Linked DNA regions of Homo sapiens: regions 1, 3 and 4 are each linked to region 2. The links are contacts of gene promoters, found by promoter capture Hi-C in blood cells and fetal thymus (Javierre and others, 2016). All regions are on one chromosome and are shown on one strand. The core of a region is centred on a gene start or on the middle of the fragment in contact, and the rest is flanking DNA. Distances in the headings are between cores, read along the strand shown.

What was found. Contacts are between HindIII fragments. The CHiCAGO score rates a contact against its expected background, and 5 or more counts as called.
Region 1: a contact is called between a fragment that was not itself captured here and the fragment with the promoter of PCDH1 in region 2, in 1 of 17 cell types (endothelial precursors). The highest score is 7.2, in endothelial precursors.
Region 3: a contact is called between a fragment that was not itself captured here and the fragment with the promoter of PCDH1 in region 2, in 1 of 17 cell types (endothelial precursors). The highest score is 5.6, in endothelial precursors.
Region 4: a fragment that was not itself captured here is called in contact with the fragment with the promoter of PCDH1 in region 2 in 4 of 17 cell types (endothelial precursors, M2 macrophages, M1 macrophages and 1 more); the score reaches 13.6 in endothelial precursors.

The regions. Positions count from the first base shown.
Region 1 is chr5:141,765,909-141,768,932 of GRCh38, forward strand. LOC124901094 (a long non-coding RNA gene) reads right to left here. Exons shown (of 2, transcript XR_007058975.1): 2 at 1-3,024. Among named protein-coding and RNA genes, the nearest start is that of ARAP3, 85 kb to the left of the region's middle. The HindIII fragment of the contact is 1,412 bases long and covers 860-2,271 here.
Region 2 is chr5:141,877,113-141,879,937 of GRCh38, forward strand. It overlaps PCDH1 (protocadherin 1), which reads right to left and starts at 1,298. Exons shown (of 5, transcript NM_032420.5): 1 at 1,111-1,298. The coding sequence starts at 1,150. RefSeq lists enhancers at 1-280, 547-1,296. The HindIII fragment of the contact is 20,024 bases long and covers 1-2,825 here.
Region 3 is chr5:141,786,683-141,789,382 of GRCh38, forward strand. No RefSeq gene overlaps it. Among named protein-coding and RNA genes, the nearest start is that of PCDH1, 90 kb to the right of the region's middle. RefSeq lists enhancers at 1-319, 320-820. The HindIII fragment of the contact is 427 bases long and covers 1,077-1,503 here.
Region 4 is chr5:141,749,594-141,752,391 of GRCh38, forward strand. No RefSeq gene overlaps it. Among named protein-coding and RNA genes, the nearest start is that of ARAP3, 69 kb to the left of the region's middle. The HindIII fragment of the contact is 554 bases long and covers 1,045-1,598 here.

The DNA of each region.
Region 1 (3,024 bases), core at 316-2,815, 110 kb before region 2:
GGCTTGGAAGTTTCCTGACTTGGAGGGACAAGGAGAAGCTTAGGACATGGTGACCATGGCCATGGCAGCCCTGCTGGCCTGGTAGGAGGAGTTGCTGTGGCCTGGTTTCCACAGATGTGGGCTGCAGCCGTTCTGTTGAATAGGAGGCTATTAAGGGAAAATGCTTTGCAAGGAGCTGAGCAGCTGGGAGAGATCATCAGAACTCTGAATGGGGAACTTTGTCCTGTCAGGCTCTGGCAGGCACTTGCTCCCTGGTCTGTCTCAAGGAGACTGGCTGGTCAAGAGGCCAAGGGGAGCTACCCCAAGAACCATTCCCTCCACTGCCTTCCTGTCCCTGGTCCCCACCCCCACCCCTGTGCTGCCCCATATCCAGGGTGGCCTGGGGGTTAAGAGCACAGGCTCTGGGGACTGACACCAGGGCCACATTCTGTAGGTGTGAAGCATGTTACTGAAACTCTCAATGTGTTAGTCTCATCATTTGCAAAACGGAACTAATAAGAGTATCTCCTTGTAATGCTGTTATGAAGATTGAGTGAGAAAATGGAGTTCATGCCTCAGTGGACTGGTTACTGTAGACATTATCTCCAGCTGAGGAATCACTCTTCCTGGTTTCTTTCCATCTCAGGCCCTCCCAGGGTGCAAATTCCTCTCCTGGGTCTCACCCTCTCTCCTTCCTTTCCCCAACAACCAGGCAGGGGCTCAGGACAGGTCTCCTTGTGGAGGCTGCGTGTGGAGAGAAGGAAAAGTATCAGCAGGACCATCCCAGCAGGGAGAGCTCCCAGGAAGGATAACAAACTCTAGCCTGCATGGTGCATCATTGCTTATGGCTCCACTTCGACTCAGGACACTCGTCACACAAAGCTTGCATGTCTTCTCCCACCCAGGCCTTTGCCGGGGCTGTTTTCCTCTGCCTGAGACACTCTTTCTCCCTTTTGCCTGGCTACCTTTGCCCAGCTAACTCCTATTTGTCCTCCAGATGTTAGCTTATACAAGCCCATCTCCAGGAAGCCATTCCTGAGACCAGGGTGTCCTCCTGTGTGCCCCTCACCCTAGCACTGATAAAGCACCCAGCCCCCTTCACTTTAGGCCATGGGTATCATGAAAGTAGGCACCTTGACCTGTTTACTTATCCCCCAGCCCATAGCACAGGGCCTGGATTAGAATAATCAATCTGTAAATATTTGTTGGATATTGAATGAGTGAATGAAGTGAATGAGTGAATGTGTGAATGGGTGAATGAAGGAATGACTGGGTTCCCTGGCCCAGGGTGGTACGGGGAAAGGAGAATGTCTGGTAGGATGAAGAGAAAGCAAAGTGGGTGCTTCCGACAAGACCGTAAACACATCAAGTTTAGGGCCTTCTCCAGGACAATGACCAAACTGACCCCCTCTTGGGACCCTGTCTTGAAGTTAGGCTACCAATGTCTGTAGCCACATCATGATCCTAAGTTAATGTTTACTGAGGACCTACTGTGTGTCAGCCACTATGCTCAGCACTCACACACACACACACACTTACTGTGTGCTACCTCACTGAATTCTTAAAGCAGCTCTTTGAGACAGGTACCATAATTATCTTCACTTTACAGAACAGAAAACTGAAGTTCAGAGAAGTCAAGATGTCTTGCCCAAGGCCCATCCAGCTAGCAAATGATAGGGCTGGAGGTACGGTTAGTGGTCAGACATGTTTGCTTGTTTTTAGAGCTATGCCTCTTAGCCACCAGACCATCTTGCCTTCCTTGTAGGATGGAGCGGAAGTCACCATTCCTCCCTCCCAGGAAGTGGAAATTGCTGGGAAAGAAAGCTGGAGAAAGTTCAGACCATTTAGTTAGCTTTTGGTGAGCAATCATGGTGCACTGGGCCCGGCAGGGAACGCAGAGTTGGCGGCCAGGCCAGCCATCCAGCTCCCCATCTAAGCAGACAGACCGACCCCAGGAAGAGGGGTGGGTGATGACAGCGGACTGGTGGGGTGCCAGCCCATGCGGTGGTGATGGCTGGTGTTCGTCACCGGGTGGCTCGAGGGTGGACGGTGGTGGGCCCAGGAATGGGGCATGGTACACAGAGCTGTTCTCGGTGGGGCTGCTTGGATGGCTGTACACGCTGGAGGCTTCACCACTCGGCGTGTGCCGAGCACAGACATGGCTCTTTGGCACTCAAGTCACTAACAGAGATGACTCCTTTTCCCATTGCCGCAGAGAACGTTTTCCTGCTTTTTAGGCTCAGCAGAGCACTCTTAACTTGCTCATTCTCACCCAACAGCTGTAGGATCCCAAGCTTTCAGAGTGTCCTTCTCTCCTGACAACTGTAAGCACCATCCTTTCAGCAGAGCACAGAGCCCCTTAGTCTGTGAGAAACCCTGGGGGCTGCTTTCCCTGATGTTGTCCACCGGGCTGGAAGCAGGCGGCCCATTAGGCTCAGGCTTTGGTCTTGTAGAAATTACCCAGCAAGGTGTGAGGAACAGCAATGATGGGGCGGCCCAGCCAAGTGCTAATTTCTTGCCATTCTTCAGGAGAAGCATGGCTTCTTAGCTCAGGCCCAGCGGCTGGTGTCACTGGGGCCGGTGGCTGGGAGCTGAACATAGCAGGAAGAGCCCAGACTCCTAGACTTAGAGCCGGGACCTTGAGCACTCAAAAAGTGGGGGGCACCACCCTGAAGTTCCCATGGCTTGGTGGCTTGGCTCAAGATGGCAGTCCTCTAACCCTCAATCAGCCTTGTCTAGGTGCCACAGGGCCAAGCCAGGGGCTAGATGTAGTGCCAGGGCAAGTGATTGGCATCAATTGCAGTTAGGAGGTAAAATTGTTGTTGGAGAAGGGGTTGGGTCAGGTGAGAAATAAGGACTGGGAAAGAAGTTGGGGGTGGATTTCCCTATGAGATGGATATTACAGTAAGAACTAGGGTTGAAGTCTGGGATGAGTGATGGATTGGTTAAGATTAGATTGGGGTTGGAAATGATATTAGGATTCTAATTGCTCTTAGAGTTTGAGTTGGAGCATTTTGGCTTGATTTTGGTATGAAGTGTGGGATT
Region 2 (2,825 bases), core at 48-2,547:
GGCGGCTTCTCCTGCCTGAATCTGGACTCCGAGAGAGAGGAACGGAGTGTGTGTGTTTGTGTGTATGCGCTGCAGGGTGTAATGTAATGTGACACTGTTGGTTTAAGGTGTGTGTGACACCCAGTGTTAAGATGGGTGAAGCAGTGGATTCTGTGTTTGTGACCGTGAGGCGCTGCTGTAGGTGCCAATTCCTGTGTTAGAGTGTGTGCCATCAAGCGTGTGCTGAGATACTGGGTTGTGTGTTTGTGTGGGTGCAGTAGAGGGGTGCAAGGAGACCTGTGCTGTGTACCTATGTTCTGGCCAAGAAGTGGGTAAGATGATATATGCTAGGGTGTGTTCCTTAAAGGAATGTGGGGGGTGGCTAGGTTTTGAGGGTTCATCTAGTGAACTGTGGCTGTGACACTCGTACATGAGGGCACGAGATTGTGTTTGTGTGTCCACGTCGCGGGGTGTCACACCCGGTTGTGTTATTGCTCTGTAAAGCCACGGGTTGTGTGTCGGTGCTGCTGATCGTGCAGACACTGAAGCGGATTCTGAGCTGGCGACGGTGCCCCAGTGGGCGCTGGTGTGCGGGAGGTATGTCTGTGTGCACATATGCAGGGATGTATGTATGTGTGTATATATGTCCACGGTCTGGCCCTCTGGGTGCCCGCGAGAAGCTGGAAGCGGCTGAGTGAGCCGAGGTAGTTGCCCAACAAGTGTGTATGTATGTGTTGTGGACAACGGTCCTTGCTTGCTCCGTCCTCCGGGAGACCCCCACCAAACTGGGGGCCGCGCGCTTCCCCAAACCCATCCTCCACGCCGCGCGCTCCTGGAGTCTCCTTATCCCCGTCTCTCCGAGCGCGCCCAGGTTTGGGACGCGGGGACTAGGGTTCTGCTCAGCACCCCCTCCCCTCCCTCGGCTTCTCGCCGCGGACCTGGGAGGACGGAATCCCTCAGCCGCATCCCCTGCTATGGGCTCCCAGCAGCCCCCACCTCAGCCCCCTCGCGCCGAGCTCGTGTTGGGCCCCCGCGGCCTCGCTCCGCCGAGCGCCCCTCCCTCAGCTCCCGCCGGCCATGACCGCTTCGGGCCCCAAGCCGCTGCTGCCTCCACCGCCGCCGGATCCTTACCCGCCTCCGGGCAGCGCCGGCCGCCCGCCCCGCTGTCCATGAGCCGCCGCCGGCCCCGGCCTGGGCTGCGGCTCCGCACGGCTGGGGCTGGAGCTGCAGTTCGGGCTCCGGCTCCGGCTCCGGCTGGCTCTGGGCGCAGCAGCCCGGCGGCTTTGCGTCCGCGCCGCGCTCCCGCTCCCCGAGTGTGTGAGGCGGCGGCGGCGGCGGCGGCGGCGGCGGCGGCGGCGGCGGAGCCAGCAGAGAGCGGAGCGCACAGCCCGGCCCGCCCCCTCCCTCCCCCCTCCCTCCCGGCCCGCCCGCCTCCCCGCCCCCCCTCCGGCCGGGAGGTGGAGCTCGGGACCGCTCCGGTCCGGCTGGGAGGGGACCCCGAGCACCGCTCCCCAAAGCCTGGACCCCTCCCTCTGCCATCTCTTCACTGCCCGAGGCCCAGTACACAGGCCGTGCCCTCCTCTGAGCTTCACCTTACACTTATCCCACCCAAGCCTCCATCTAGGACCGCTCCTGGATTCCCCTCCTTACCCTACTCAAACACCTGTCCCCAGCTCTGTCTGCCCCCTGGGAAGTCGAGGCAAGGGAAGTGTCTCCCACAGCGCCTTCTTCCCTGGGCACCTGCTCCTCCATATCCACCCTCTTCCCGCCCAGATCCCCGATCGCCCTGTGTGGCCCTCCCTTCCCGCTGCGCTCGGGGAAAGTCCACCCCTCCCCCTCCGGCCGAAGCCGCAGAGCGGTCAGCCTCGGTGGCCGCAGCAAGCCGTGGGGGTGGGGCTATGGAGGGGACCGTGGGAGGAGGAGGCTAATGGGACCCGGGGGCTCTAGAGTGAGGATGGGGAAGATACACAAGCGTGAAGACGAAGTGCTGCTCCTGAGCTTAGGCTATTCGAGGGTCCCCTGATCACCTGCCCTCTGCACGGCGTAGTGCTGCGGCCACACGTATTTGCCAGTGACTTACATTATACAGTCACCGGGTCCCTGCCCCGCGAGGCCGCGCAGTGTCACGGCCTGTGTCACACGCCCTCGCAGTGCCACACGCTCCCTATCACACTCACACCAAATCACACACGGTGTCACACGCAGTGTCTCACACACTCCAATACTCGGTTTCTCCCATTCAGCTCTGGCTCTCTGGCGCCATCTAGAGGTCTCTGAGTAGCTTGGGAACTCCCTCTCCTGCGCTTGCGGTTTGGTAACCCAGGCTACCAAGTGTCCCAGTTCAACAGGACCTCCTGCCTTCTTCGCCTGCAGGCCCAGGCAGAGTGTTCTAGGTCAAAAGAATGAGGAAGGTTATCCCTAGCCAGGCCTAGTGCTGGGTGAGGAAAGGCTCTTGTTATGGGATGACCAGTTGTTGGGCCTCTTTTTGCCATAGCCTCTGACTCCCCATCTCTGTCCTTCCCCATTTTCCTGTTCCTACCACTCTTCTGTGCCTTTCCTCTTTCTTCTACTTCCTTCTCTTCTCAGCTCTGGCCTCTCTCGGTGGGATGCTCTTCAGGGTAAAAGTGGAATCTCTGGTTAGCTAAGAGGGCAAGCAAAGTCTGTCCAAGATCTCTCCCAGAGCAGCCCTGCTTAACTGGACTCCTTTTCTGACCTGGGCTCTGCTCTATCCCTCAGCCCCAGGAGCCCAGGGGCAGGGCTCTAGATGGGAGATGGGGTAATCTGGTGAAAGAGGGGGGTGGGTCTGTTCTGTAAGTAGCTTCTTTCTGTCTCTAGAAAGCTCATAC
Region 3 (2,700 bases), core at 40-2,539, 90 kb before region 2:
CTTCTTTTGGGGGGGTCTCCTTACCCCACCCATGCTCCCATTCTGGCTCCTCTGAACCTGAGTGCAGGATTGCAGATGTAGGCCCCACTCCCACCTCCAAACAACAAACTGCCCTTCCCACTGCCTCCAGGCCCACTGGGAATCTGCCCCTAATTGCATCTCAGGCTGGGAGGCTATTAGCCTGTGATTGCATCCCCAGTGCCTGCCTTGCCCCCCGGGTCTTCACTGTCAGCTTCCACAGGGGTTTGAGATGACGTCAACAACCCCCAATCCCAGGGCCTGGCCAGCTCTGCTCCCCAACACCCCCACCATCCAGTTCTAGGTGGGCTCCTCCAGGGAGCTGGGCCTTTTCACTGTGGGCCAGCCAAGAACATGGGCCTGAGGAGGGTGCCCAGCCATGAATCACAGCACACGCATGTCTGCACACACATCACTGGCCCTGCTGTTGCGGGATCCTCCCACTGAACCTCTCCCCACTGCAACCCCTCTACACCTCCTGCCATCTGCCTCCCCTCCACCATGGGAGGACAAGGGTCTGGGGTTAGGACTCCTGGGTTCTTTTCCTGGTTCAGATACTCCCTCTGTATGACCTTGGCCAAGTCCCTTCCACTGTCTGGGCCTCAAAAATAGAGAATTCTTCCAGGCGTGGGGGCACATGCCTGTAGTCCTAGCTATTTGGGAGGCAGAGGCAGGAGGGTCGCTTGAGTCTAGGAGTTCAAGGCAAGCCTGGGCAACATAGTGAGACTCTCTCTTTAAAAAAAAAAAAAAAAAAAAAGTGAGGGGGATTGGGATTCGTTTCAGTTTTCTCTATGCTTCTACTAGCAGAAAAGAAAGATTACCATTGGGTAATTCCTGGGGTTTTCTTCCACCAATATCTAATGAGTCCTAGGCACCATGCCAGGCATTAAGGATTCTAGCAAGGCAAGTTCCTGCCCTGAGAGTTACAACACAAAGTGATCAGGGCTAGGATGGAGGAAGCACAGGCAATGACAGTAGGGGTTGGGGGTGCCAGCAGTGGCCCTGGGGTACCTACCCAAAGGAGAAACGTTATCTAGCTTGCAGGTATAGTCTGAGAAAGCTTTCTAGTTTCTGAGACCTAAAGGATGAGGAAGAATTAGCCATATAAACAAGGATAAGGTGTGGGGCTGGACATGGAGAATGTTCTAAGCAGAAGGAACAGGACTGAGAAGAAGCCTGGAGGCTTTGGTGTCGAGAGCAGAGGCTGGAGGGTTGACAGAGGCTGGCTTGAGAGCTTGGACTTTATTCTGAGGGCATTGAAGAACTACAGAAAGATTTTAGGTAGGAGGGTGATAGGGCTGCCGTTTGGAGGGAGGATTGGGGCCCAGAGAGGAGAGAGAGAGAGACCTTCAGGGAGGCTACCAACCATCTGTCTTACCTCCCCCAAGTGTGGGAACAGTCCCTCCTGTCTGTCTGTGTTAGAAGGGGAGGCTAGGCTTTGCTTCCTCTCCTTTCCCTCTACACCCCCACACTTCCCTCTCCTAAAGCTTACACACACACACACTCTCATACACATGTGCGTGCATACACACATGACCTGCTGCAGATCCTCTGGAGGGGAAAGGGCAGAGGTGGCTTTGGGGAGGCGACACAGAGCCATCTGCCCCAAGGGAGCTAGAAGAGAAGGGGTCTGGAGGTTTGATACCCAACTGAAGCTCCACTAGGGAGAGCACACTCCCTGCCACTTGGTGCAGTGACACCTTTCCCTTCTCCCCTCTACCCTAACAGGTTAATCCCATCCTGAGCCACGGAAACTGGAGCTGGGAGTTTCACCACCTTATCACCACCAGAGAGCCTCCAAGATCCTCCTTCCCCTCCTTCTCTCTCCTACTTCTCCCACCTCCTCCTTTTTCTCCTAGGTGCGCTCTAACTCCCTGCCTCCCTTCTACCAGGGCTCATCAGAGCCTGAAACATGCTGTGTGTGCATCTGTGTATGGATGTATGCGTTAGGGGGCATGGTATGTGTGCAAGAAGCACAAGGAGGTGCCCACCAGCCACCATCGGGAGATGCGCCAGAGGGCTGTGCAAGGCTGAAAGGGATTTCAGGAGGATTCAGAGATTAGAGAATTAAACATCCTGCTACAGCCTCCCTTGAGCCTGGAATCCTTGTGGCTCCAGCTGCATAGAGAGCTCAGCTGGGCCAAGCCAGAGTTGCAGGGGATTCCTGGGCTCCTTCTCTTTACCCTGCCTCCTGCTCCCCAAGGCTCCCTCAAGCCCCTTCCCAGACAGGGACCTGGGCCACAAGACGCCTCCACCCCAGGGTCCAGATGTGCAAACCTCCCCTCAACCCATGTGCCTCTTCCAGGCACCCTCCAGGGGTGGAGTGCGCAAGCCAGACTCTTCAGCCAGCAATCATCAGAATTCCAGCCCTGGCCACAATCACTCCTGGAAGGCACATGTCCATTTTTCTCCATCTCTGCAGCCCAGGCCCATTGACCTCCTCACTCCCCACCCTCACCCCTCTCCCTTCCAGTCCCTGCACTGAAACCAGGCAGATGTTTCTATAAGAACACCCATGTCACTGCTCTCCTCAGTGTCCTACAGTGGCTCCACACTGCCCTCAGGATAAAAGCCAAACTCCTCCACTCTGGCCTCAGCTCCCATTGCACAAGGTCCTGGGGTCCCTGCTTGCTCTCCCCTCCAGGCCTGGGCGCTGATGGTCTCTACTCTCAGAGTCTCCGT
Region 4 (2,798 bases), core at 72-2,571, 130 kb before region 2:
TGGAGCAAAGGGCTCTCACAAACAGAGGTGTGAAATGGGAGAAGCACTAGCCACACAGGGCCTGGAGAAGGCAGTCAGTTCCCAGAGCACATGGAAGCTACTGTGTCACTGCCTCCACCATTTGGTAGGAACTTTATTTTCTCCATTCTGGAGGTTCAGGAAGAGCTGGTCCAGGTGTCAGTCTAGTATTGTGGTGAGGAGGACAGAGGCTGGTATGGTGGCTGGATCAAGCTGTTCTCCTTCCTGCAGCCCCTAATGCTGGGCCCACAGCCATGAGCTGGCTCCTTAGTCCCTTCTTCTTTCTGCTCCTGTGACTTCTGGGAACCGGGGTCTTGACTCAAGGGGCTCCAGATAGACCGTGGTGGGGAATGGGGAATAGGGTGGATGGGTGGAGGTCCATGACTAATTCTTGATGTTTCCAGAGAAGAAAATAGATGCTGGCTTGCTCTGTGAGTTCTGGGGTCTCAGTTCTCCCATCTCTAAGATGGTGGGGTTGGATTAGGCAAACTCTAAGGGTTCTTTGGCTTCTCTTTCTTCTGCAGCTGGGAACAGGGAGATGGTGGAGGGAGGCTCTGCAGAAAAAGGCTGGCTCCACCCTCTGCCAAGGGACCAAATCAGCATTTGCTGACATTTCTCAGGATGCCCTCAGTGCTGGTGACATTTCAGAGACTTGCTCCCTGGCAGGGCTAGAGGATACAGGGCTGACCCCAAATCCACTGCCACAGGCCCCACCCAAGGACAAGCCTCACATTCCAAACAGCAGCAAGGCACCAACTCTGAGGTTAGTCCTGACTTTGCTAAGGGGCTAGAGCCCATTTTGAAAATGCTGACTGGGACAGGAGCGTAGCAGGTCTGGGCCCAGAGCGTTCCTCACCCCAAGCCTCAGTGTCTGCATCTATCAAATGGAGCCCATTTCCCTGCCTCCTTCAAGGGTAGTCTTGGGATTCCAACTACATAAATGTGAGCAAAGGAAAGTGTTTCATAAACAAGTGTGAGATGCTCTGATGGAGGCATTAGGGCCAGGGCTGGGGTCAGGGGGAGCAAAGCTTGGAAGGATTAATGGGATGCAGAGGCTGGAGGAACCAAGTCATATTCTGGCAAGAGCCATATGGTGAGTAGAGGCCAGCAGAGGGGACCCAGAGAACTCTGTGATGCTCTTGCTGATGCTGACAGATAGTCACAGAGCTGTGGGCAATGTCAGAACCAGCCACATAAGGAGGAGGCCCCAAGCCTCGTTCATTAGCTTCACTCTTCAGCCTTGGGAATGGGAGAGAGGCCAGCTTGAGAGGCCAGGTCAAGGAGACAGTCAAGTGCCTGAGTTTTGGAGTCAGAACTAATCCTGGCTCCATTGATCATGAGCTGTGCAGCCCTAGGCAAGTACTTAACCTCTCTGAGCCTCATTTTTCTCATCTGTAAAAGGGTCAGAGCCTAGTAATAATGCGTACCTTGCATGTTTCTTGGGAGAATTCGAGAAGCTAATGTTCATAAAGCACTTAGCATGGGCTGCCACATAGCAGTTGCTGAGTCGAGTTGCTTCACTGATAACCATATTAGTGGCATCAGCTCTCAACCAGGAGGCAGATTGGGGTTCACCAAGAAGCTTTTCCACCTCTGGTCAGCCTAGACCATAAGGAGAGGAAATCCCCCTCCCCCGAAGGTTTTTACACATTTAAATGTGCGCCAGACACCTAACGTGCTCCCAACTCAGTATGGTGGGAAAGAGGAAGAAAACTTGATTTCTAGTCTGAGTCCTAATTTGCTGATTGTGTGAGCTTGAACGACTATGTTCCCCAGTCTGAGTCTCAGTTTTTTCATCTTTAAACATGAGAGTAATCAGGCAAGGATTATGTATTGGTATTAATAACCATTAGGTGAATGGCTGATGGGGAAACGGACATTTGCGTGGTGTCAGAGTAACCCACAAACATAATTTACTAGAAGGAAGATGGGGAGGAAATCATAACTATCATCAGCAGGTGTCTATCTGAGCATTTCTCATGGTGGATGAATTTGATGTTCTACGTCTTCTGATACGGTGCAAAGTGAAGTATATGACATCGCCTCACATGTGTTCTAGCCAAGAATGTTGAACTTGAATTGTTCTAGCCTTTAGATCTAACTCCCTGTTTATAGAAAACACTGGGATAGTTTCACAACCTCAACAACAGCACAAGGAAGTAACCAGGCAGTTGGAAGGAAGAATATTCTGTGGGGAAACTAATCTGAATATTTCAATGCATTAATGACCAAAAAAACCAGGGGAATGCACCATTTTAAGCGATTTAATACACATAACAATCAGATGCTATCCCTGTATTGGATTCGGACCAACTGTAAAGGACTTCTTGGGGGTCATTTGGGGAAATTTTTATAGGTTCTGGGCATTAAAAGGGATGAAAATTTACTGAAATAGAAAAGGTAGAGATTGTTGGTTAAAAAACAGATCATAAAGCAGTATGTATAATTCAATCACATTTTGGTAAAAAGATACTTGTATGTAAGAAAAAGATCTGGAGGGACATGCATTAAGGTGTTAATGGTGGTAGGAATATGATGTTTTTATTTTTATATTTTTGCTTTCTGTACTTTTAAAATTTTGCACAATTCATATTTATTACTTCGGTAATAATAAAATGCTATTTAACAAATAAAATGGGAATAATAACTGTGTACCTTGTAGGGCTGTAATGATGCAGTGAGATAATGCCGTGAAGAACAAGGCCTGGCATAAGCACATGCTCAATAGCTAGGTGCTGCTAAGATGTTTATGCTGTTCCACCCCCAGCCACCATTAGACA